6 separate regions of the Homo sapiens genome follow, and all the other regions are linked to region 6. Evidence: promoter capture Hi-C in 16 types of primary human blood cells and fetal thymus (Javierre and others, 2016). All regions are on one chromosome and are shown on one strand. The core of a region is centred on a gene start or on the middle of the fragment in contact, and the rest is flanking DNA. Distances in the headings are between cores, read along the strand shown. Region 1 has its middle 50 kb from the start of NPBWR1. Region 2 has its middle 21 kb from the start of NPBWR1. Region 3 overlaps NPBWR1 (neuropeptides B and W receptor 1). Region 4 has its middle 76 kb from the start of NPBWR1. Region 5 overlaps LOC100129098. Region 6 holds the start of ATP6V1H (ATPase H+ transporting V1 subunit H).

Region 1 (3,134 bases), core at 378-2,877, 850 kb before region 6:
CGCAGGCTCCGTGGAGCCTCACCCCATCATGTCTGACTGCTCAGAGCCCTCCGTGTTGTTAGGAGCCCAGGACAGTCCCTCCTGAAGCACATGGACTTTCAGAATGAGTTCTCTCTGCTAACAAGGCTTATTCTTTCATCATCAAAATGTTCCTTAAATTATCCCAGGCCAAAGCCTTAAATATAAAGCCAGCTGGTGCAACTTTATTATAACACGTAGTTTGAATTTAAGCACCTGGATTTGAAATGTTGGAAAATAAGTGTGATTGGGTTTTAGTTGTGTATTCATAAACAGTTGGTGAGGTGTTTATGTCTAGGCAGCTCAACCCTAACCCTGGAGAGGGTCATGTGCTTGGCCTCAGAGATGGAGAGGACAGGGCTCAGTGGCCGCACCTAAGGCAGAGTAGTGTAGCAGGCCCCTTCTGTTGCAGTCGGTCACTGGAGTGCCCTTCCTCTGGGCCAGTGATGGAGGCTGGGCTTCTTTGGAGACCCACAATCTTTCAGGACCTCCACTTCCTTTCCCTGCCACCTGTGTCCATGTATCTGGAATGGGGAAATGGTAAGGAACCCTTTACTGTAACCCTCCAGGAATAGGACAAGAGGTTTCTTCTTCTTCTTATTATTATTATTTGAGTCAGAGTTTTGCTATGGTTGCCCAGGCTGGAGTGCAATGGCGTGATCTCGGCTCACTACAACCTCCGCCTCCCAGGTTCAAGCAGTTCTCCTGCCCCAGCCTCCTGAGTAGCTGGGATTACAGGCATGCGCCCCACGCCTGGCTAATTTTGTATTTTTATTAGAGACGGGCTCCATGTTGGTCAGGCTGGTCTTGAACTCCTGACCTCAGGTGATCTGTCAGCCTTGGCCTCCTAAAGTGCTGGGATTACAGGCATGAGCCACGGCGCCCAGCCAAGAGGTGGTATTAAGCTTATTAACATTTAATCATGCTTCATGAATTTGTCAAAGGCTCACTCATTCAGAGCAAAAATAACTTGTGTATTAGTTTCACCTCTGGACCTAGAAAGCCAGCCCTTAATCAGGTAAGCAGTCTCACATATACTTGGCTGACAGCACTGGGTATACATTTGAATCTTCCACTTTGTGAGTAGTTCGTCTCCTATGGCTTGTTATGAAAAAATTAAGTGAAAGAAAAATATCTCACAGTCTGCCAAAACTTGGAATTGGTTGGCACAGAAATGCATGATTAAAACATCAAAGTGTAGGTACGTTATGGTTTCAGCTTTTTTTCTTGTATAGACACAAGGCTATTATTGTTCATAATGAACACGTAAGACCTTAGCTTTTATTAAATGTGGAAAATAAGGTCAACATTTTTTCTTTAATATACATCTGGCTAATTATGTTGAGTTTTACCTTCCAGAATAAGGAGAAAAATATTTCTAAAGAAAGAAACGTAAGAAGCAGCCAGAGTGAGTAGAAAGGCCCAGGGGGTTGCTGTAATGGAGTCCTTCCTCTCATGCAGGCACTGGGCCAGGCGCTGCCCTTTGTTATCTTAGGGAGAAAGGAGAGCAGGGACTGAAAAGCCTTAGGAAGGAAATGGCCCTCTCTCAGTTGCAATCCATTCTTTCCACTGAGAATCTTGCATTACCCAATAACCTACCATCTTCACAGGCCAACAACAAGGCAGACTGGAGGAGGGTATACATTGTACTCTTTTTTTTTTTTTTTTTTTTGAAACAGAGTCTCACTCTGTTACCCAGGCTAGAGTGCAATGGTACAATCTCCGATCACTGCAACCTCCATTTCCCGGATTCAAGTGATTCTTCTGCCTCAGCCTCTCAAGTAGCTGGGATTATAGGCACCCACCACCACGCCTGGCTAATTTTGTATTTTTAGTAGAGACAGAGTTTCACCATGTTGGCCAGGCTGGTCTTGAACTCCTGACCTCAAGTGATCCACCTGCATCAGCCTCCCAAAGTGCTGGGGTTACAGGCGTGAGCCACCATGCCCGGCCTGTCATCATTTTAAATAAAAGGGAAAAAGCATAGACCATGTGCTTAGAGGAGAATTCCAGGTCGATTATGGGCCTTAAACTTGATTTCCCTGGTTTGCCCAGGCTCTTCATGCCTGTAATGAGAAAACATGTGAATCTGCTTTTCCTATTATGAAATATTCATGTTAATTAAAAGAATACTTATGGAGTACACTTTAGGTGCAATGTGGGGTGGCAGGTGAGAGAGAGGATTGAGAGATGATCTCTGTGCTCAGGACATAGACATCTATTGGAGGATAAACACAATGAGCCGCCCTACCAAGAATAAGAAGAGATATGCCCAAACAGGGCCAAATGCTAATTCTGAGGAAGGACTTACAGAAAGCTTCCAAGAAGGGCCCTGGTGGGTGGGAGATGAGGAACAGTGACTTCAGACAAAAGGACTAAAGAAATGCAAGGAGGCACAGAAGTTCAAGGCTTCGTCATGGAGTTGTGACAGACAGGTCCGGCTGGCGGGCCATCTGGGAGCGTAGGTTGAAATAGGCTGGAAAGGCATCTGTGTCTGGACTTTAGCAGGCTTTGAATGCCAAGAAGAGCAGAAGTGAGAATTTCAGTAAAGACTTTCAAACAGGGGAGTGGCATAACTACATTTTGTGATTAAGGAACTAATTCTGGAGTCAGTGTAAAGGATGGACTGGAGAAGAGACAGACTGGAAGCAGAGGACCTGTCAAGAGGCCATTGTTGTCAACAGTGTCGGTGAGAAGCTCTATGGAAACAAAGCAGATACGAACAGGGAAGCAAGCATGATCTTTGGAAAAACATGTCAAGGCTGGTAGAAAAAGCTTTGGGCATGGGCATTGGACACCCAGATTCTGCCACTTCCCAGCCATGAGATTAGGGCACATCTCTTAAGTTGCTGAAATCAGTTTCTTCATTGGTAAAATGGAAGTGATATCCACCTTATGAGAGAAGTTCTGGGAGAGTGCTTTGTACATTCTAAACTGCAATACCCATTGTGATATTCTTAAGTTTTTAGAATGTTGAGACTGTCTTATTGAATTATTTAACAGATATTTATTGAGTGCCTTTTGTAGGCTGGGCATTGTTTTTGCTTTTGGGGACTCAGAAGTGAATAAAACAAGTAAAATGTCCTGTGCTCATGGAACTTATACACCATGGGGGG
Region 2 (3,124 bases), core at 51-2,550, 880 kb before region 6:
CTACTCTAGATCTCTTGAACTTTCTAGCTAATCAAGGGTATAAGGTGTCTAGGTCAAAGGCCCAGCTTTGCCTACAGCAGGCCAAATATCTAGGCTTAATCTTAGCCAGCAGGACCAGGGCCATCAGCAAGGAATGAATACAGCCTATACTGGCTTATCTTCACCCTAAGACATTAAAACAGTTGTGGGGGTTCCTTGGAAGTACCGGCTTTTCCCTACTATGGATCCTCGGATACAGCGAGATAGCCACACCCCTCTATACTGTAATCAAGGAAACCCAGAGGGCAAATACTCATCTAGTAGAATGGGAACCAGAGGCAGAAACAGCCTTCAAAACCTTAAAGCAGGCCCTAGTACAAGATCCAGCTTTAAGCCTTCTTACAGGACAAAACTTTTCTTTATATGTCACAGAGAGAGCAGGGATAGCTCTTGGAGTCCTTACTCAGACTCGTGGGACAACTCCACAACCAGTGGCACAACTAAGTAAGGAAATTGATGTAGTAGCAAAAGGCTGGCCTCACTGTTTATGGGTAGTTGCAGCAGTGGCCATCTTAGTGTCAGAGGCTATCAAAATGATACAAGGAAAGGATCTCACTGTCTGTACTACTCATGATGTAAATGGCATACTAGTTGCCAAAGGAAGTTTATGGAGTTTATGGCTATCAGACAACCACCTACTTAGATACCAGGCGCTACTCCTTGAGGGACTGGTGCTTCAAATACACACATGCGTGGCCCTCAACCCTGCCACTTTTCTCCCAGAGGATGGGGAACCAATTGAGCATGAGTGCCAACAAATTATACTCCAGACTTATGCCACCTGAGATGATCTCTTAAAAGTCCCCTTAGCTAATCCTGACCTTAACCTATATACTGATGGAAGTTCATTTGTAGAGAATGGGATACGAAGGACAGGTTATGCCATAGTTAGTGATGTAACCATACTTGAATGTAAGCCTCTTCCCCCAGGGACCAGTGCCCAGTTAGCGGAACTAGTGACACTTTCCGGAGCCTCAGAACTGGGAAAGGGAAAAAGAATAAGTGTGTATACAGACAGCAAGTATGCTTATCTAATCCTACATGTCCATGCTGAATATAGAAAGAAAGGGAGTTCCTGACTTCTGGGGGAACCCCCATTGAGCATCAAAAGGAAACTACGGAGTTATTGCACGTAATGCAAAAATCCAAGGAGGTGGCAGTCTTACACTGCCAAAGCCATCAAAGAGGGGAAGGAGAGGGGAGAACAGCAGCATGAGCAGCTGGTGGAGGCAGCAGAAAGGAAAGAGACAGAAAGTCAAAGAGAGAGAGAGGAAGAAACAGAGAGAAAGAAAAGGAGAGAGAGAGAGAGACAGACACAGAAAGTCAAAGAGAAAGTCAAAGAGAAAGTCAAGGAGAGAGTCAAAAAGAGAGAAAGAGACAAAGAAGAAGTCAAAGAGAAAGAAAGAGAAATGGAAGTAGTAAAGAAAAAAACAGTGTACCCTATTCCTTTAAAAGTCAGGGTAAATTTCTGTCTACCCAGACAAGGCATATTGTTCTTATGTGGAACACTGACTTATATCTGCCTCCCCACTAACTGGACCGACACCTGCACCTTAGTCTTTCTAAGTCACAACATTAACATTGCCCCAGGAAATCAAACCCTATCAGTACCCCTCAAAGCTCAAGTCTGTCAGCGAAGAGCCATACTACTAATACCCTTACTTATAGGGTTAGGAATGGCTACTGCTACAGGAAACAGAATAGCTGGTTTATCTACTTCATTATCCTACACACTCTGAAAGGATTTCTCAGACAGTTTGCAAGAAATAAAAAAACTATCCTTACTTTACAATCCCAAATAGACTCTTCGGCAGCAGTGACTCTCCAAAACTGCTGAGGCCTAGACCTCCTCACTGCTGAGAAAGGAGGACTCTGCACCTTCTTAGGGGAAGAGTGTTGTTTTTACACTAACCAGTCGGAGATAGTACAAGATGCCACCCGGCATTTACAGGAAAAGGCTTCTGAAATCAGGCAACGCCTTTCAAATTCTTATACCAACCTCTGGAGCTGGGCAACGTGGCTTCTCCCCTTTCTAGGTCCCGTGGCAGCCATCTTGCTGTTACTCACCTTTGGACCCTGTATTTTTAACCTTCTTGTCAAATTTGTTTCCTCTAGAATTGAGGTCATCAACTTACAGATGGTCTTACAAATGGAACCCCAAATGAGTTCAACTAACGACTTCTACCGAGGACCCTGGACTGACTCGTGGGCACTTTCACTGCCCTAGAGAGTTCCCCTCTGGAGAACACTACAACTACAGGGCCCCTTCATCACCCCATCCAACAGGAATTAGCTAGAGTGGTCATCGGCCAAATTCCCAACAGTAGTTGGGGTGTCCTGTTTAGAGGGTGGATTGAGAGGTGACAGCATGCTGGCAGCCCTCGCTCACTCTTGGTGCCTCCTTGGCCTTGGTGCCCACTCTGGCCACACTTGAGGAGCCCTTCAGCCCACCGCTGCACTGTGGGATCTACTCTCTGGACTGGCAGAGGCTGGAGCCGTCTCCCTCTGCTTGCGGGGATGTGTGGAGTGAGAGTTGTGGGTGATACTGGGGCTGTGCACAGCGCTTTTTGGCCAGTGCGAGTTCTGGGTGGGCATGGGCTCGGCAGGCCCCGCACTCAGAGCGGCCGGCCGGTGCCACTGGCCCCAGGCAGTGAGAGGCTTAGCACTCAGGCCAGCAGCTGCAGAGGGTCCACCAGGTCCCCCAGCAGTGTGGGCCTGCCGGCTCAGCTGCCTCCCCGCAGGGCAGGGCTCGGGACCTGCAGCCCATCATCCACAAGCCTCCCCCCTGCTGTGGGCTCCTGCAGGGCCGAGCCTCCCTGACGATCACTGCACCCTGCTCCATGGCACGCAGTCCCATCAACCGTCCAAGGGCTGAGGAATGTGGGCACAAGGCACGGGACTGGCGGGCAGCTCTGCCTGCGGCCCTGGTGCGGGATCCACTAGGTGAAGCCAGCTGGGCTCCTGAGTCTAGTGGGGACTTGGAGAACTTTTATATCTAGCTAAGGGATTGTAAACACACCAATCAGCACCCTGTGTCTAGCTCAAGGTTTTTAAATGCACCAATCAGTGCTCTGTGTCTAGCTAA
Region 3 (3,071 bases), core at 474-2,973, 900 kb before region 6:
TGGTGGCAATCCTGGCGGTGTGCCTCCTCTGCTGGACGCCCTACCACCTGAGCACCGTGGTGGCGCTCACCACCGACCTCCCGCAGACGCCGCTGGTCATCGCTATCTCCTACTTCATCACCAGCCTGAGCTACGCCAACAGCTGCCTCAACCCCTTCCTCTACGCCTTCCTGGACGCCAGCTTCCGCAGGAACCTCCGCCAGCTGATAACTTGCCGCGCGGCAGCCTGACTCCCCCAGCGTCCGGCTCCGCAACTGCCCGCCACTCCTGGCCAGCGAGGGAGGAGCCGGCGCCAGAGTGCGGGACCAGACAGGCCGCCTAGGCCTCCTGGGGAAACCGACTCGCGCCCCATACCCGACCTAGCAGATCGGAAGCGCTGCGACTGTGCCCGCAGGTTGACCTTGCCAAGCCCTCCAGGTGATGCGCGGCCATGCCGGGTGAGGAGAACTGAGGCTGAGATCGCCACACTGAGGGCTCCCTAAAGCCGAGGTGGAGGAAGAGGAGGGTAGAGGAGGAGGGCGGTATTGCTGGGAACCGCCCCCTCCCTGCCCTGCTCCCTGCTGCCCCACCCGAGCCCTGGCAGTCTGGAACCTGGCTGGAGTCGGAACTCTCCGCGCCTTCGAAGGGAGGCCCGAGGACGCTGCCGGCGCCCCCAGGCGTCGGCTCCGCGCGGCCCCTGCTGTAGCTGGCGCACAGCCCCGGCGGGTCCCCTTGTCCTCCGCGCGCTCTGGGAAGACGGTCAGGCGCGCGCGTTTGGCGCCCACCCCTGTGAGACCCGCTTGGCCTGGCGCCGCGGGCGGGGACCGCTGCCGAGGCCGCCAGCGCCTCTTCAACTGGGGAAAACACAACAACTCGGGATGCCCCATCGGAGTGTGTATACACCTGTGTGTGTGTGTGTGTGGTGTGCGCGCGTTTGCGGAGGCATGAAATGCGGGGAAAGAGGCTGGCGCTTGGCAGTGACTGCCTAGAATATGATACGAATAGTGATCCTTCTTTCTGTCTGCCCCTACTCCTTTTCTTTGCCTTTTCCCTTTCCTATCCGTGATCTCCCCTGAAAATGTCAGACTCCCGGAGCAAGGAACCCGGAGTAGCCCGGGCGCGCGGTTCCGGCGCCCCCTGGAGGAGCCAGCGGCCGAGTGCTTAGCGTCGGAGGATCGCGGGGCTTTGTGGTGGAGCACTCCGGCTGAGCGCGCTTCACAGCGCTGTGGCACACTGGTCATCGTTGCTTATAGAGGATGCCAAGCCCCACCCCCATTCCCCCAATTGGCCTCGTCTCTTGTCTTACTTAGATCAGTTTGTTGTAACTGTTCATGTGTGTACTGTTTTTCAGGACTGAAAACTTTATAAATAATGTACATGTCCTAATCTCACGAGTTGCCATGAAGATCAAATAAGATAAAAAGAAATGCGATCTATTCTCTTGTGTTCCCTTTCTCCTCTGCTTCCTTGGCTCCGCCTTAGGGAGAGCAGGAAGCAGGGATGACCGACGGCTTCAGGTTTTCTCTGCTGTACTTTTCACAGGGAGCTGTGGATTACCTGGGCTTTATTCCTTACTTGTAGACGGCATCCGGTAGGTAGTCCCGGTAAACCGGGTAAATACTGGTCCTGGAGTCACCAGGGAGATTGGCCAGCATCCTACCTGTGTTTTTGTCTCTGCATATGGAAGACAAAGTGGATTAAGAGAGAGGACTGGCATTGGGTTTGCCCAATCCTCTGCAGTTTAGCCTTAGACATGAGGGCCGAACCCTAAGCAAAGTCTGGTAATTGATTATGGTGTTTTAAAAGGTATTAATCTTTAGGATGAAGTCCAAACAGGATGAAAATTTCTACAAATGTTTGTTTCCTATGTCATGTGTGAGAAAAAAAAATGTGAGTGTTGCAGCACATTTTGTTTGCTTAGTTTGGCATCTTCAATCAATTTCTCAATTATTTAGGTTGAAAATAGCTTTTAATAAATATTTGGAAGGAAAAAACTCCCCCTTGGAATGGGGGGAAGCAAACCCCCTCTCTAATTTTGGTGAATAAGAATTGCTTTCTTAGCTCTCAGAGTTTTTAGGAACATTGAAATAATTCATAGCCATCAGTTTAGAAAATATACATTAAAAAACCTTCTGTCTTGGGTGGCAAATAATAGTAAATTGTTTAAAAGAAAGTTTTCATCTACAATGAGTTTCGAGTGGTGGACCTCATGGCATTTGAACAGGCCTCTCTCTGCTGGCCGGCTTCGGAGGCTTCTTGGAATTCATTTTAATATCTTTCGAATTTCTAGGAAACATTCTATTGATTTTCCTTAAACTCTCAAAATTATCTCATGAATCCTCTGTAACTTTTCAAAATTAAAGTTTTAAACTTAGAGTAACTTCTAGATTACCTAAGGTGATGGACAAAGAGTAAGGTGAACATTTGGCTACAAACACAGCTGGAGTGATTGTCTGGATTCAGTATCTCATCTGTCTTAATAAGCTCAGTAACTGGACTCAGATGGGGGACAGCTGAGTGATCCATCTGTCCACTGTTTCATCCCTACAGTAGATTGACCTCGAGCCTTCTTGGAATCTATGGAGATGACTGCTGGAAAAATACACGGGCTGACATTGCTGTTCATCCCCAGCAAGGCATGGACTGGCTTCTGAGTATGCCTGTGGGATTAATCAGGTCTCAGCAGTTGAGTTCCTCCTGGGCTTTCTGATCACTGGATAAACTGTTGTATCATTATTTCTAGGTCGTTGCCCTTCATACGAGCATGTAGACTGTATATCTCAGGCTTCCTTTTTATGTCTTGGGTAATCGGTTGAATAAATACACACATAAGCCAGGCAAAAGTAGAATTTATTCACATCATTGTATTGCAAAGGTTTTAACACTGTGTTGAATTCTTGCAGTTTCTGTGTAAACTCTATGGTTTGGTTTTACCACTTTGAATAGTTAAAAATGTCTATTTGCTTTTACTTAATTTAGTGCAGTTATGTAATGTGTATGCTTATGTTTTCTCTTGACAAACGCAGAAACTCTGTAGTCCATTGTAGAGGAGCTCAGTTTAAAATAAAAGCTGAAACATTCTGTGTGATAAG
Region 4 (3,131 bases), core at 124-2,623, 830 kb before region 6:
CAGAGCATTCTCCAAAGGGTAGGTGTTAAGTTGTTGGTAGTTTCTTTGTAATGTTTTGTTGCCTGCCTTTATAGGGTAGCTCAATATAAATATGTAACTACTTTGAGAATTATTTCCTTTCTTGGGGGATAATTGGTTTAGCTCATAATGGAGGTTGTTTTGAATGGGAAATGGTCTTATCTATTCCCTTACATAAATGAAAAATTTGTTAGAGGGATATTTTTAAGGCTAAAGATTCTTTCATTTTCTTGACAAATTATCTCCTAAGACTGGTAGGTAATTGTGAAATCACAATGACAGAGATGGGAGAAAGCTGCTACTCTTCTTGTTTGAATTACTTTGCAGGTTCAGAAATAAAATGCTGCAATTCTGACGTCTTTCCATTGTAACAGGAAACAGACAAGGTATTACAAAAATTGCTCATGTTCCCAAATTGGACTGTGAAATTATTGGTTGTCTTTCAGAGGGTGTGAAAATATTCAGATCTCAGAATTTTTATCTAACTTTCACAGACATAAATGCTCATTTTATTACTTTTAAATGACTTTTCTGCAAGACTTCATCCATGTTTGTGGGAATCTGATGCATGTGTGTACATGAAGAAGGTAGATTTTCTGTTTCTCACCCAGATTATACTGATATGTAGAACAAGTGGAAGTGGAAACAGCAAAGATGCCCCACACAGTGATATTTGATTACATAGATGTTGTTTCTGTTTTTGAATGTGCCTCTGACGGTTTGAATAGTAAACTACCAGGATTTAGAGACTGTTAGGATGCTAGCTTGGAGGACTCCATCAGACGCACTCAGGGCGTTCATAAGATTAGCCTTCCCAGCCCTGATCCCTCTCCCAACCATCCCACTCAGATCTATCTAGTCAGAATCTGTACATGCCACTCAGGGAATCTGTTTCTTTAATAAGAATTCTTGGGTGATTCTAAAGTTTTAACCAGTTTTGGAGCTACTAAACTTTTCCAGTTTCTCTGTGTTATAGAAGAAGAAATGAGACTCAGCATGGTATAACCCTAAACTGTCAGAAAATGTTGCAGAGGTTTTCAGTGATGTGCTAAGGTCATGCAGCTATTCAGCGACAGCCCTGTTCTCTGGTCCTGGTTAAGAGCTTTGCCTCTTCCCATGGCCTAGAGGAGGCTGAGGTCTCTGTTGCAGCTGCACCACAATGCAGCTTCTCTCTCTGCCTACTCCTGCTTTCTTCACTTCCCAGCCACCTCCTGCACACAAACCTCTTCCTCAGAATAGGTTTTTTTTTTTGAAATTCAGCCTGACACATAGGTCTGCTGTCAGATGCACACATCTCTGCCCTGCTCAAGCATTCATCAGTATATTTCTCCAGCATGCCACTGGAAATGTTGATCCCACTTTTTCTTAAGTTTTGCAATAAAACTCAGGGGGGAGAAAAGAAGAGGAGAGGGGGAGGCAACATGGAGGGCAACCTGGTTTTTACAGTTCCAGTGCTAAGTGACGTACCTTACCACTTCTCTACCTAATCTGAAAGCGACCAACAGTAATGGGCAAAATAGCTTACATAGGAATTCCTATGTATTTGTGAAAGTTGTCAGAATCAAAACCAAGCCACTTGTGTTTTTAAAAAAAAAAAAAAAAAAGCCTGACAAATAGAGCCAGGGAAGGCCATGAAAGAAAGGGTCTGATAGCAAGGTAACTGTCACAAAAGACTGCAAAAACCGCAAGCTAGTACAAAGACTATTGGAACCTTACACATACATGCAAAAATACTTCTTCAAGGACTTCTGCCCAGCAACTGCCTGTCCAACCTCAGACTGGTGCTGCTCTTGTTATTGATCCCCATAGCCAAGGATAATTATCTCAAAAACAATTATGTAATCCTCCTCATCTCTCCTTTAAGACACTTTGCCTTCCTTTTACCTCCCTGAATGCACACATAGGTTACTATATGTGTCTTCCCATTGTAATGCCTATTCCTGCAGAAGCATCATTTTTTCTTAGAGAATCTCTCTTCGTTGTTATTTAGACATATTGCATTAAGATTATAATTTGCATCAACGTTACGTATTCTCAAGTAGAGTATTTTTATTTCTGAATTTTAGTTCATGTTCAGAAATTCTGGAAAAATGGCTGTGAATTGTTAGTGCAAAAATGTAATTCTTCCACAGATATTCAATACATATTTGGAGAATGATTTCATCAAGTGATTTTGATAAGTGAAGTTCTTAGAAAAAAATTCTGCAAATATGGGAACTTTTTTTAGGCACCATTAGGACAAAAGGTCTAAATTATTATAGAAAAAAATTCATTCTATTAGCCTGTTAGAAGAGAAAATCTGTTAGAAAAGATGTCTGAGGTGAATTTTTAAACACTAAAATGTTCTTTCCTTAAGAACAATTGCATTTTGCATTTATGCAACTGCATAACAACTTTAAAGAAAGAAAATTTTTCATATATTCATCTATCATCCAGCTGCTTTAGATGTGATAGCTCATTTACCTTGAATGATCATGTATGCTTTATAAATATAATATTTATATATACTTACATTGCATTAGAATTTTCAGTTTTCCCTTATGATTTCTTTTAAACAAATCTGACTTTTACCAAATAGTCTCAGTAGAGGATAGTAAAAATAGGAATGTATCTTCTATCTCATTAAGTTATTTAAATACTTTGTTGAAGTTTTAGGCCTTCTTTCTCAGTGCAGTGTTGGAATACATTCTTTCTATATTTCAAAATCGCAGTTTAAAATAAAAGGTTGATTAAGTTATTTCAGTGGATCTGAATTGATGCTGTCATTAATTAAAATTACATTTATTAAAATTCAGGTAAAATGAGGAAAATATATTGAAGTAAGCTTTTCATAGGAAAGTCTGAAACATTTTAAGATAAATGCTCATTGTACCTGATCTAAAATAACACTATTCTGAACTAGCATTTATTTCTACTTATAATTTTAATTCTGTTCAAGGCAAAAACTATGAACTCCTATAATACAGAATTTGTAAGTCTAGATACTTTACGAAAAATCATTATCCATTCAAGAGACTAACTGAATGCTTGGGATATGCCAGCTTATATCTTTGGTACAAGATAAATATGATTTGGTTTCTTCTACCAAGAAACTCATAATTTGGTAGAAAGAT
Region 5 (3,027 bases), core at 6-2,505, 620 kb after region 6:
ACCTGAAAAAGCTTACTGAGATAACAGGAAGGAAAAATAGAAAATAAAAATTTAGGTTTGTAGTTTCAATAACGAGACTGTGGATATAGAAAACATTATTGTTTTATTCATTTAAAAATAATTTTAAAAATGTAAATGATGCACACGCTTACAACAACTCAAACAACATTGCAGACGGGCTTGTAATATAAACAGAGTTGTCAGAAGTTTCCATCTCTCCCCAGCCCCAGTGCCACAGGTCAGAATCAATTCCTTTTTTCTTCCCCCTACTGGGCATTACCTACATTAATAATTCTGCTTGTCTAGTGGTTAATTAATTAATGTACCTGCATGGCTAATTTTAGGCTTATGAGTTTTAGACATTTACTTTCTGCTACGACAGCTAAGAATTTCCTGCCCGCTCTTCCTCGGAATATAGTTACATCCTTATTTCCACTTCTGTTAATTGTCTTTTAAAGTCCAGGACTACATACCCTTTTCTAGTTCCATCGCGAAGGCGGGAAGTCTCGATTCCTCACTGGGAAAGGTGAGGACATGGATGCCTCCACCCTTCCCTGAAGCACTCCTCTCCTCTTCTGCGGAGGTGGATTTTTAAAAACAGATTGGGGTTGGGGTGGGGGAGGGACAGCACGCAGAATATTGATGCAAACGTCATATGAAAAAAAATACATATAATATATATGTATGTATACCTGCAAAGTGCTGTTACATATACGTGTGTATATTAACAGCATTATGAATCCCAGACAATTGGGGCCGCTTACCGCCGTGGCTGTGACTTTAAATTCACTCACTTCTTACATCCACTAGGAAAAGAGGATTTGTTTCCCTAAAGCCTATAAAAGGGGAAAGGCTTAGGCGCAGTGGCAGCCCCGTTCCCCGCACCCTCCTGCCCTCGGGTCCCGGGCGGGCTGCGGGAGTTCCTCCTGCGCGGGCGTCTGAGGCGCTAGAGGTCACCGGAGCGCGCTCCCCTCGCCAGGGACCTACACTCTTCCCGCTGCTACATTAGGCCGCATTAACAAGGATCTGGATTCACTTTAATTTAAAAGGTAAAAGATCTTAGGTCTGATGGGGGAGTGCGGCGAGGAGAGCTCGGACCGCGACGTCGCGCGCCCGCTTCGAGGAGTTTTGAGCTCTTAGCTTGGTGCCGGGGCCCGCCCGGCGCTAGATGAAGTGCTCGTTTACTCGGCCTAAGCCACGGTGACTCGAAGGTGAGAATGCAACTTCGCGGTGCACCGGCTCAGGGGCCTGCCTGCCGCGCCAAGGCTTCGGAAGTTCTCAGCGGGACCGCTGGGACAGGCTTTCCTCTGAGGGAAGAGGAGGGGATTTGTGCCTCTGCACGTTCTTTCCTGTGGAGGGGAAAATCAAACCCTGTAGCCGTCCGCTGCCGGGTAGGGATCGGGCGATGCTCGGCGCCCGAGTTCTCCGCCGTTGAGGTGGAGCCCGGCGGCGGGAGCTTAGATTCTCTGTGGGCCACATGGTCTCAGAAGAGGCCCCGCGGCCCGGGGGCGCCCGCAGTGTCGCTGGACCGGCGGCAGCGCTGGCCACGCCGTGGGCTGGGACTGGCCCGGAACGCGGGTGGCGGTTCGGCCTCGGAGACCCGCGCAGCCGTCGGAGCATCTCCGTGCCTCGCTCACCACCTTCTTTTCCTCCGCGTCCGGCGGAGGGTTTCGGCGCGCGGGGCAGGCCTGGAGCGCCGTGAGCAGGCCGGATGCGGGATACGCCAGTGACTACCAGAGCCAGACCCGGAGCGCGCTGCCGGCGGTGACGGCTAGGCTGGGCCCCTGTCCTTGGGCCGAGTTGCCGAGCTCCCTCGGGGACTTGAAGGTGAAGGGCGAGGCGCCGGCCGGGGCCGCGGGCCGAGCCAAGGGCGAGTCTCGCATCCGGCGCCTTCCAGGTGGGGCGAAGGTCGAGCGCCAGAGGCTGGCGAGGGACCCCCGCCCAGCTTGACGCCCAGCTGCGCCCGACGCCGGGGGAGGCGGAGCGCGGGGAACCCGGGCGCCGGGAACCCCGGACGTGGGAGGGCTGGGCTTCTGCGCGGGGAGACGCCGGGCTTGGCGAACATCCTCAAGAACCGGTCGGTGGCTCTACCTCCGAAAACTCTTTCGTGTTTAGCGATTCTCATATTTAGTGTTTCCCTTTAGGGAGACTTGACCGGCAATTGCAGACTCGTCTTGGGAGCTGGAGATGACATTAAATAAAAAGTTCAAAACCAAATTGTTAATTATCTCCAGGTATAAACGATAACACAAAATTTTGCAGTCTTGGGAGAAAGGTTTTAATGTGCCGCCTAATTAGGCCAGGTTCTGCAAAAACGAAACAGCTCTATTCCAAGTTAAAAAGTATGCCCCTATTCCAAGTTAAAAGAAAAAAAAGTTGTATTCCTTGTTCATTTATTGAGTAAGGAATTGAGAGATGGGTGCTGAGTTATTACAGATTCTAACTGCTCGCCACACATGGAGCTAGAAATACATTTAACAGCCTTTCAGGAAAACGCCTAAAGCTTTAGAATTTCAAGCTAGCCAGGTTGCAATCTAGAGCTCTAGTTTGTTGCTGAAGTTTGGGAGAGGATGGCCTCTACCTGTGCACACATCGAGTTAATTTTCCAGAGTCTTTTGAAGTTAATAGGGAGCGGCTTTTCTGTTTGTTTATTTTTTGACAGGGTATCCTTCTGTCGCCCAAGCTGGAGTGCAGTGGTGCATCGCAGCTCACTGCAACCTGGACCTCCTGGGCCCAAGCGATCCTCCTGCCTCTGTCTCCCAAAGTGCTGGGATTATAGGCATGTGCCACCGCGCCTGGCCTGTTTTTTGCTTTTAAGAGAAGGAATAACATGGCCAGAGTTTGTTTGTTTATTTTTTGAGATGACGTCTAGCTCTGTCGCCCAGGCTGGAGTGCAGTGGCGCGATCTCGGCTCATTGCAACCTCTGCCTCCCGGGTTCAAGCGATTCTCCTGTCCCAGCCTCCCAAGCAGCTGGGATTACTGGCGCGTGCCACCACTCCTGGCTAATTGTCTTATTTTTTAGTAGA
Region 6 (2,914 bases), core at 328-2,827:
CCTCGGATATCCATTTTGGTCATCTAAACTTCGTAATCTTGAATGTCTTTCAACAAATCTTCAATTTTGATGCAAGGTAAAAACAGAATACGAGGTGTTTCTTTTTTTTACAACTATTAATATTATGATTATGAATATCGTGATCACTTTAATCTCCCCAGGCATTCAACTCAAATATTAAATGTCCTAAGTCTGAAAGTATCATTATATTTCAAATATTGTCCACTGCTCCATAAAAGAGTTCTTTAGGCTTTTGCTTTTCTAGAAAAATTTTTTTCATTATTGGCACTAACACTGCAGTAAGATTTTTAAAGCAATCACCTAATATACTGAAATCAGAAATCATGATTAAATAGAATAGGTATAAATATGGGAAAAATTGTAAATTTATACAATTGTGGTTAACTTTTCTCATAGAGAAACAATAAGAATATGAATAGTACGGATAAGGCTAGTTTTATAAACATTTACTAAGCATCATTTTGAAGTGGCACATTAAAAATTCTAAGTCCTTTCGAAAATTACTCAAATTAAAATACACAAAGTGGGAACATAATTTCTTAGAAGACAGTGCTTTCCTTTTCAAACAAAATTCATAGTATTTGCAAAATCAAAATTCGGAGAGAAAGTTTTAGAACAAATACATATTACAATTTAGGTAAGCCAACAATGGCGGTCTGGCTGGACGACAAGAACCTACAATAATGAAATTCTATGTAATTCTCACTCCTAAACTTCCAGATACAAACGACTGATTTTAACACAAAGCAAAATACAGGTTGCCACTTGCAAAACATAAATTCACGGCCATGGCCACAAAGAAGTTAAAATCCTACCCAAAATTATATTCCGGGTTTCCAACGATCTTAATCAATTTGGAACTTAATCTCTGTATCTGAAGATTTGCTGTATAAACAACCCTGGGCAGCGCGAACGACAGGGCCCAGGAAAAAACAGGCTTCAACTGGGCCAGGCTGGAACTCTGCAGCCAAGGAGGCTCAGCCTCAGCGGCCCGTCCTGGCGTAGCTCAAGGTGTCTCTAGACAATTACCTAAGTCCCTGAACTACTCGCACCCCCAGCGATCCAGGGCCGTGGCCCAGTCCTGGAGAAGGTATACTTTTTACCCCTCCCCCTCCACTCTCCTGCCCGCCCCTGACGTTTCTTCCCCCTGCGAGAAAGGCTCCAGAATTTCGCTTAATAAACCTGGTTGAGGCCTGGAAGAAAAGCAATCTGGCAACCGGGGGCCGAAGAACAGGAGAGGACCAAGCGGCGAGACACCAGCACGCACCAGGCAAGCTGGAGAAACTGCAAGAGTCGCCTGACCTGGTCTGCAGCCTGAGACCAAACAACGCGAGGGCGGCCTTACCTCGCGAATCCTCGGGACCCCACAACGCACCCAAAGCCGGCAGGGAGGGTGGTCCGGGGCGCCGGGGACACAGCCGGGCTGGGGCGCCGCGTCAGAGCCAAGTAGGCGTCTCCTGTCAGGTCCAGAGGTCTGAGCAGTGGAGGGAGACTCCGGGAGCCGAAAGTGAAGCGGGTCCCGCACCAAGGAGACGTTGAGGGCCGCACAGGTAGAAGGAAGCCAGGGCGGCCGCAGTAGAATGACAGAGGCGCCGGTCACGTGATCGGAGGCACGTGACTGCTGCGGAAGGCGGAAGCCGGGAGACTCCAAAGCAGCAAGAGGAGGGGCGGGCGCTGCGGCGGGGCTTGTTCGGTGCGGACAACTGGATTCCCGAGTCCGTAACTTGGGCCCCGGAGCGACGCAAGGGTCGGGCCCCAGCCAGCCAGGGCAGGTGGGAGGCGGCGAGCGTGGCGGGCACGCTAAGACCCGCCGCCCCCAGACCTAGTGCCTCGCCTAGGGGAGGCCGAGGACCTCCGCCCGGAAGCAGCTAGCAGAGGCCAAAACGCTCTTATTGTAACCGTCATTCTTTTGAAAAGTTTGATTTCGCGCTTTCAAATTAATTTCCATTTGGATTTAACAGCTCCATGAAGCAGGCGTTCTTATTCTGATTTTAAATAGAAAACTCGGGCTGAGAAGTGGGTCTGAAAAGCTCTCTTAACCTAGGGTTGCACATTTAGCAAATAATAAATTCCATTGCAGTATTTACTTTTATACTAAAAAGTTATTCGTTGTTTATCTAAAATTCACATTTACAGGACGTCTGGTATTTTATCCAACAGTCCCATCTGGAGCCCAAATTTTCCCCTAGTCCAGGCCTCAGCAACTGTCTTTGCCTTAAAGTAAGAATGTACTGCCCTGGAGGTGAAGTATATATGATAGCATGTTTTCCTTAAAAAGCAATGAAAGGGGCCGGGCGCGGTGGCTCACTCCTGTAATCCCAGCACTTTGGGAGGCCGAGGCCAGTGGATCACCTGAGGTCTGGAGTTCGAGACCAGCTGACCAACATGGTGAAACCCCATCTCTACTAAAAATACAAAAAATTAGCTGGGTGTGGTGGCGCATGCCTGTAATCCCAGCTGCTTGGGAGGCTGAGGTAGGAAAATCACTTGAACCCAGGAGGCAGAGGTTGCAGTGAGCCAAGACCGCACCATTGTACTCCAGCCTGGGCAGAAAAAGCAAAACTCCGTCTCAAAAAGAAAAAAAAAAAATTCTTTGAAAGGGATTTATAACCAACCCATTTTTACTCGTAAAATTAAAGTCAGAATAATCAAAATCATGCATTGATTATGAATAAAGATATATAATAACAGTGTCAAAGATTGTACTAGGTCACTCATTCTGTCTTAGCCAGAAGTGAAAGTCTGTTGTTTTGAAAGCAAATCTAAGGGGAAAAACTTTCATAAAAGAGAAAAAGAAACCGATCGTGTACTAAGAAACTCCCAAAAGCTGAAACAGCATGTTTTCTGTGTAACTGAGCAAAGCTGGCAGTGAGGCCTGATCTTCGCATTTCCT

What was found. The method cuts DNA at HindIII sites, captures the fragments that hold promoters and counts their contacts. A CHiCAGO score of 5 or more calls a contact.
Region 1: a contact is called between a fragment that was not itself captured here and the fragment with the promoter of ATP6V1H in region 6, in 2 of 17 cell types (naive B cells and total B cells). The highest score is 6.2, in naive B cells.
Region 2: a contact is called between a fragment that was not itself captured here and the fragment with the promoter of ATP6V1H in region 6, in 12 of 17 cell types (M2 macrophages, naive CD8 T cells, fetal thymus and 9 more). The highest score is 8.7, in M2 macrophages.
Region 3: a fragment that was not itself captured here is called in contact with the fragment with the promoter of ATP6V1H in region 6 in 9 of 17 cell types (naive CD8 T cells, fetal thymus, naive CD4 T cells and 6 more); the score reaches 9.0 in naive CD8 T cells.
Region 4: a contact is called between a fragment that was not itself captured here and the fragment with the promoter of ATP6V1H in region 6, in 1 of 17 cell types (fetal thymus). The highest score is 6.5, in fetal thymus.
Region 5: a fragment that was not itself captured here is called in contact with the fragment with the promoter of ATP6V1H in region 6 in 1 of 17 cell types (megakaryocytes); the score reaches 5.4 in megakaryocytes.

The regions. Positions count from the first base shown.
Region 1 is chr8:52,987,622-52,990,755 of GRCh38, forward strand. No RefSeq gene overlaps it. Among named protein-coding and RNA genes, the nearest start is that of NPBWR1, 50 kb to the left of the region's middle. The HindIII fragment of the contact is 1,412 bases long and covers 922-2,333 here.
Region 2 is chr8:52,958,829-52,961,952 of GRCh38, forward strand. No RefSeq gene overlaps it. Among named protein-coding and RNA genes, the nearest start is that of NPBWR1, 21 kb to the left of the region's middle. The HindIII fragment of the contact is 6,943 bases long and covers 1-3,124 here.
Region 3 is chr8:52,940,665-52,943,735 of GRCh38, forward strand. It overlaps NPBWR1 (neuropeptides B and W receptor 1), which reads left to right. Exons shown (of 2, transcript NM_005285.5): 2 at 1-3,070. The coding sequence ends at 230. Among named protein-coding and RNA genes, the nearest start is that of NPBWR1, 3.0 kb to the left of the region's middle. The HindIII fragment of the contact is 5,917 bases long and covers 1-3,071 here.
Region 4 is chr8:53,013,571-53,016,701 of GRCh38, forward strand. No RefSeq gene overlaps it. Among named protein-coding and RNA genes, the nearest start is that of NPBWR1, 76 kb to the left of the region's middle. The HindIII fragment of the contact is 2,934 bases long and covers 1-2,840 here.
Region 5 is chr8:54,465,510-54,468,536 of GRCh38, forward strand. LOC100129098 reads right to left here. Exons shown (of 2, transcript XM_041680557.1): 2 at 85-2,033. The coding sequence ends at 1,279. Among named protein-coding and RNA genes, the nearest start is that of SOX17, 9.1 kb to the left of the region's middle. The HindIII fragment of the contact is 2,492 bases long and covers 10-2,501 here.
Region 6 is chr8:53,841,668-53,844,581 of GRCh38, forward strand. It overlaps ATP6V1H (ATPase H+ transporting V1 subunit H), which reads right to left and starts at 1,578. Exons shown (of 14, transcript NM_015941.4): 1 at 1,367-1,578; 2 at 1-58. The coding sequence starts at 23. RefSeq lists an enhancer at 1,527-1,666 and a silencer at 1,737-1,886. The HindIII fragment of the contact is 7,596 bases long and covers 1-2,914 here.